2 separate regions of the Homo sapiens genome follow, and region 1 is linked to region 2. Evidence: promoter capture Hi-C in 16 types of primary human blood cells and fetal thymus (Javierre and others, 2016). All regions are on one chromosome and are shown on one strand. The core of a region is centred on a gene start or on the middle of the fragment in contact, and the rest is flanking DNA. Distances in the headings are between cores, read along the strand shown.

Region 1 (3,450 bases), core at 711-3,210, 410 kb before region 2:
TATTCTTCTAGCTAGTTGAAAATACACAATTAATTTTTGTTAATTACAGTCACCCCATAGTGCTATTCAATGCTAGAACTTATTCTTCCTATCTAGGTGTACTTTTGTAAAGCCATATTTTTTCCAATTTTTATTTCAGATTCGGAGGGTACATGTGCAGGTTTGTTAGCTGGGTAACTGTGTGATGCTGAGTTTTGGGGTACAAATGATCCTGTGACCCAATAATGAGTTTTTCAACCCTATCCCCATTCCTCCTTCCCTTTTCTAGTAGTTCCTGCTTCTATTGTTCTCTTTATGTCCATGAGTACCCAATATTAGGCTCCATTTATAGGTGAGAACATGTAGTATGTGGTTTTCTGTTTCTGTGTTAATTCACTTAGGATAATGGCCTTCAGCTCTTTCCATGTTGCTTCAAAGGACATGATTTCATTCTTTTTTATGGCTGTGTAGTATTCCATGGTGTATGTATACCACTCTTTCTTTATCCAACCCACCATTGATGCACCTAGGTTGATTCCATGTCCTTGTTATTGTGAATAATGCTGTGATGAACATGTGAGTGTATGTGTTTCTTTGTTAGAACAATTTGTTTTCTTTTGGATATACATCCAGTAATAGGGTTACTGGGTCAAATGGTAGTTATCTTTTTAAGTTCTTTGAGAAATCTCCAAGCTGCTTTCCACAGTAGCAGAGTCACCCCCCACCCTTTTTTTTTTTTTTGCTATATAAAATCTGAGTAAGATAACAGACTATTGGAAGTGTGGAAGAAATTGGGCCCATTTTCAGCTCACTGAGTATTTACAGAATGCCTGAGAATATTGCTTTTTTAAATCTAAGGCTGCAAATTTCAGCACTCTAGGACTTTGGCAGAATAATGAATCATCATTTTCTGTATCTTGCTTTTGTTGCTATTTGAAAATAGACCAGCCACGTTATAGTAAATATCTTAAATGTACATGTGCAATTCAATAACAACTTTACTATGACACATACTCATATTCTTTACTATGACACATACTCATATTCATTGAAGATATTTTGATTAAAAGTCTTAGAAGGAATTTGTTCATTCATCGCGGTATTTCCCTATAGAGTTATTGGTTTAATGACCAACAGTGCAGTAATTATCATTCCAGTGTCAATGAAAGGAAAATATTTTGCTTTCAACTAGAAAGCATTTTATAACTCAGTCAGATGTGGGTGTATATACCTATGCAAGCATGAGTAAAGAGGAGAGAGACAGATTATAAAGAATTTTAGATTGCTTTGCCAAATTAATGTCATTAAGCTTACTTATGAGACGAAGGCATAGAGTGCCTGGAGGTGTTATGCTCAGCTGGTCACAGGAGAGTGCTAGAGTACCATTAAATTTCCTGCTCTAAAATAACTGAAAGAAATCATGTGCCAGAGAATGACTTAATGCACTTGGGTGAGCTTTGCCTTGCAGGGTTGATGGAAAGAAATAATAACACATGCTGGTAGAAATTATAGTAGAATGCCAAATCTACCTCATAACATCTCCAGATGTTAAGAACAGAATGATAAAGTGTGACAGAATTATCTTGTGCTACAATTATTTTAATCTTTGCAGTGCTATTATAAAAGATTTCAATTTTGTCAAATTACCCTCTGCATTTTAAAATTCTTTTTCAGCTAGCTCTTAACAGTTTTACTAAATTGTCCTACATTCTTTGCAGGCAGCATCCTCTTGAGCCAGTGGGAATGCAATATGTGGGTCTGGGCTGCATTTAATGACCTTGTTCTCCTTGGCATAAAAGCAAAATAACAGAGGTGTGACTCTGAGTCCTTGGTAACAGAAATACTTTGCAGTCATATGTTTCTTTCATAGAATTTTAATATCGTTATGCATCACAATTCTTTTTTATGGCTTAGAAAGATGAACAATATGTGATTCTTGTTTTCTGGACAAAAACACTAAATCACCTCAGAATCCAAAAGAATTCATGTCAGCAACTGCAAGAACTGCAAGCACATTTTCAGACCTCTAGATTCTGCTAGCGAAAATAATGCTGCTTCATCCAATTTAATCATCAGTTTTATAAGGATCATTGTCTGAGAATAAATTCACACTTAAGAGTGCTGAGTAACATAATCAGGCATGATAATCCACTAAGCATGGGGGACCCTTGGAAAAATATTGCAATTATATAGGGCTCTTATGGGAGTTTTGAGATATTAAGAAAAGCTATCAACGAATTCCCCAAAGAAATGCAAATAAATACAGCATTTTAAACACAATTTCAGGGGGGTCAGTTACAGGCCCAACAGCAAGATCTTCAATAAGGGTCATTACTATCCCTTATGACACTTGGGTTGGGGATGGTCTTGTGCAGTTTGTACTGAGTTCTGGGATCAGAGCTATGGCTTCCTTTCTCCAGTGCCCATAGCAGGTTATTTCAACATAATATCACACTTATTCGGCTTTATTGATTTGAGGATAAAGAAATATTAAACATTCTCCAGTATTTCAGAGAATCAAACGTAAGAGCAACTAAATTTGTGACCACGCCCATTCAAAAAGACTGACAGTAAATTTAGTGACAAACTAAAAACCATATGTAGTGAATTTGCTTTTCCAATCATCTATATTGTAATCTATAGGAAAAGCTTAAGATAATATTATAAATACCACACTGTCTTTAATATTTGAGGAGCAGTACTCCTCAAAGACCTAACACCTAAAAACATTTTTAACAATATGGAAGAATTATTTATTGAACTATCAATTTTTATGCCCCAAGCATAATTGAGATCACTGGAACACGAGCCATGGAAAGAAAATGCAGGCTGATACAGAAGTTATCTTGGTGATAAAACCAGTGGCGAGCATATCAATGCCCAATGGGGCCTTCTTAACGTTTTGGCCCTTCATGAGAATCCAGAGACTACAGAACTCCAAATTGAACTTTACACCAACTCAGGGAGACAGGGGCTCGTAATTAGATTTGTAGACTTTAAAATATCTTTTAAATTTTTGACTTGCACACCCAAAGTTCTGATGAGGCAGGTTTAACTTTTCTTTCCTTTGAAGAAAAATTATTTAAATTATATTATTTTCTTTTAAAAATCTTATTTAAAAAAAATTTGGATTCAGCCAGTATATGTGCATGGTTGTTATATGGGTATATTGCTTGATGCTGAGGTTTGGGATACAGGTGATTCTATTACCCGGGTGGTGAGCATAGTACTCAATGGTAGTTTTTTAGCCAACACCCCCCTCCCCCTTCCTTTCTCACTTCTCTGTTTATCTCTGTAGTTGACTAAACTTGGCAATCTGTACCATCATCCACAAAAGGTATAAGCAGCTTGTAGGGCTCTGGAAGAGGAACAATCCTATATTCACTATTTCAGCACCCAGAAGTCATTTCCTGCTAAATACTCCCCTATTCTGTTCCTTCATGAGAAAGTAATGTCAGAGTCACAGGGGAG
Region 2 (3,543 bases), core at 543-3,042:
CTTAAACTTGGAGTCGTTTAACCCTTCCAATTCTCCACATTCAATGAATCATCAAATTTAAGTAATTTTATCTTCTAATGTCTCCTGATTCCAATTCTTTCCACATGTAATGCCCTGTCATCCCATTTTGCCTCCCCTACATCACATTAACTAGTTTCCCTGTATCCACTCTTGTCTCCGCTATTTATTTCCAATTGAAGCAGTCAAAATAACCACTGCTCTGCATAAACATATCACTGTTCTTTAAGTGGCACATAAGTTTTCCATAATCAGACCCCTATCTACCTCTTTGGCCTTCCCCATCAGGCTTTAAGATTCAGGGTAGTTGTTTTAAGTTCTCCGATGTCTCACATCATTATCTGTCTTTACACATTGTTCCTTTCACCTGCCATACTTTTCTTCTGCCCATTAGTCTGGCAAAAGTCTACTTATCTCAAAAGTTGTTGCATAACTCACCTAACTCCAAAATTAAATTCTTTTGCTGTAGTATCTCTTGGCTCTTAGGGAGGAAATACTTTTTGTCTACTTTCTTAGATTCAGTGTTTGCAGGCCCCAGACTTAAAGTGACAAAACAGATTAGCAAAAGAAAAGACAGACTTAACCACATACATAATAGAGTTCACAGAAAAAGGTGATTCAGGGAGGTAGAGTTCTGACTTATCTACCATCTTATAAAGGGAAGGAAAGGGGAAAACAGCACGTATGGAAAAAACAAATGACTTTTAGTAAAAATAAATGACACCTTAAAACAGATGCCAGATATGATAGCTTTGTGACAATGTCTATTCAAGTGTGTTGCCAGCTTCTAACCTCCAGTGATAAGAGTCAGTCTTCCTGGGTTTCCCTCCCAGGGAGGAGCTTGATTTGAATTCCTCCGTGTGGTTCTGCATTTAGACAGGTAGATTTCAGAAACTCAAATGTCTTTGCTCAAAATAATTTTTAGGCCACAATGGTGTATTGTAGACCCCTTCCTGGCATACAGCATTTCCCTTTCTTAATTCACTGCACAAAGATAGCCTTTGTCTTTCCCTTAAGACTGTAGGCAAATAAAAGCTCATGCCATACTTGCTTTGTTCAGTGAGTATTCCCAGCACCTTTACATCAGTTAACTGTAACATGAGCTGGATATCTCCTGGTGTACATCCAAGCCTGTGTGGCCCAATTACTTGATTATTCAAGAACAGCTTGTACAAAACACTCAGTGTGCTGGTTAATAAACAGTATGTGGCTTCATATGAACACATGAATCTTCAAAGTAGTTTATTTACATTGCCTAAGAGCTCTGCACCGAATTTGGGTAGACACGCTCATCTTAACACTATTGGATAAACGTACTAAATAGTGACAACACTTTCAAGGAGGTAAGGGGATTTTAAATTACATATTTGAATAGTTGTCAGGCTGTTTTCAAGACTAGAAGAACTCATTTTTTAGAGACTTTTCTTTAGAAGACGGCGAATTGATCCAAGGGTTCTTTTGTTTCAATCAACGTTTACTACCCTAGGACCTAAGTGCAAAAAAACTGCGGATTTACCAGGAATAAGAAAGTAAAAACCAAAAGCTATTGGCTCACTTGCTGGGCCTAGGGAAAGAAAATCTACGAGCCTTTGGCTGGCTGTTGCTCCAGAGGTACAAAGATAAACAACTCGGGGGCTCAGACAGAACCTGATCCCTGCCACCCTCCAGACCACCGGGGTCGTCCTCCCGTGACGTCACCAGAAACCACTGCTTGTGACGCTAAATGGCCCGCCCTCTTGTGCGGTGCTACGGAAGCAAAACGGAAGTGGGCGCACAGTGGCTTCCGGGCCCGGACGCCATTTCCAGCGGTTGCTGGTTCTGACGGGTTGTAGTCTGCCAGGACAATGAGTTATGACTACCATCAGAACTGGGGCCGTGATGGGGGTCCCCGCAGCTCCGGTGGGGGCTATGGAGGGGGGCCAGCAGGGGGTCATGGAGGTAACCGAGGCTCCGGAGGAGGCGGCGGCGGCGGAGGGGGTGGTCGAGGCGGCAGGGGCCGGCATCCCGGGCACCTGAAAGGCCGCGAAATCGGCATGTGGTACGCGAAAAAACAGGGGCAGAAGAACAAGGAAGCGGAGAGGCAAGAGGTAATCTCGGATTCAGTAGTGGAGAGGATGAGGCAGCACAGGTTTTCTTCTCTCTCCCGCTGCCCCCTTTTTCTTGGTTTTGTTTCTTAAGTGATGCACGTGTTTTGTGAAATGTAAATGAGGCGCAAATATATTATGCTGGCGCTCCCCGTAGCGGGTGTACTGCGTAACATTAGCCATGCTCATCTGACCAAAAACAGGCAGGATTTATGCAGGCTGAATATATACTTTGCTTAAAGGACTTGAGAACTGTGACAAAGCAAATGTTAAGTTCACGTTCCAACCGAAATTAACTTTATTAGGAGTGTCGTTGTCGTATCTCTGGCCGTCCTTTCCCTTAGAATAATAATTGTCACTTTAAGGTCTTTGCCTGGTGAAGAAGCACATAGCGACCTTTCTACATTTGAGATAGGTTTGCGCGGAACAAAAGCAGGCAGACACTGTTTTGGATGTGGATCATTCAGAAAAATAGTCCAGCTTTTATTATTAGTGTTAAAATTATCTGCAAACCTAGGTTTTTGTTTTTTATGTTGGGGTGGAGAAATTTCTATTGATGAGCAGATTCTCTTTGAAAAGGAAAATGAAAGGAATCTCCAGAGATGATTTGGCTTACTCTCCTCTCTTCAGGTGATTGTCAGGTTGATTTGTGTCTTAAAGATCTGTAGTAAGGGAAACAAAGTTCTCCGAGTGACTAGTAAATAAAATTCTAATAAAAAATAATTTTTATCATTAAGCAGGAACTTTCTTAGTATAGGCCTTTGGTGACTTTTTAAAAGCACCTTATAAAATGTATTATAGAGTGTAATTAGATCATCATTTAGGCAACTTTTTTTTTTTTTAAGACAGGGTCTCACTCTGTCGCCCAGGCTGGAGTGCAGTGGCACGATCTTAGCTCACTGCAACCTCCGCCTCCCAAGTTCAAGCGATTCTCCTGCTTCAGCCTCCCGAGTAGCTGGGATTACAGGCGTCCGCCACCACCTCCGGCTAATTTTTGTATTTTTAGTAGAGACGGGGTTTCACCATGTTGGCCAGGTTGGTCTCGAACTCCTGACCTCAGGTGATCCACCCAACTCGGCCTCCCAAAGTGCTGGGATTACAGGCGTGAGCCACCACGCCAGGCCTAGACTACTATTTTTAAACCGTTCCATTTCTTTTTATTTCTTTTAACCATGTCATGTTCATTCAGGTGTTTTGGGGGCCTTATCCATTTATCTTCATAATTTAAACTTTTCTTTAAAAAACAAATCCATTTCTTTTACAGCCCCAAATTAACTTTTTCGTTGGGCATACTGGCTTGAAAATCAGGATACGGACGTCTAAGTAACTTTACAACTTTTATTTATTAAGGCTCTGTTTGAAACAAGGTTTTATGCATATTGCTCCAGGGACTTGAAGAAATGTGGTATTCAAAGAGCTTACAGTCTAGCTGAGAAAATAA

Evidence for each region. The method cuts DNA at HindIII sites, captures the fragments that hold promoters and counts their contacts. A CHiCAGO score of 5 or more calls a contact.
Region 1: a fragment that was not itself captured here is called in contact with the fragment with the promoter of DHX36 in region 2 in 2 of 17 cell types (M1 macrophages and M0 macrophages); the score reaches 6.6 in M1 macrophages.

What each region holds. Positions count from the first base shown.
Region 1 is chr3:154,728,331-154,731,780 of GRCh38, reverse strand. No RefSeq gene overlaps it. Among named protein-coding and RNA genes, the nearest start is that of GPR149, 300 kb to the right of the region's middle. The HindIII fragment of the contact is 1,340 bases long and covers 1,291-2,630 here.
Region 2 is chr3:154,322,736-154,326,278 of GRCh38, reverse strand. It overlaps DHX36 (DEAH-box helicase 36), which reads left to right and starts at 1,792. Exons shown (of 25, transcript NM_020865.3): 1 at 1,792-2,105. The coding sequence starts at 1,863. RefSeq lists an enhancer at 1,605-1,899. The HindIII fragment of the contact is 15,842 bases long and covers 1-3,543 here.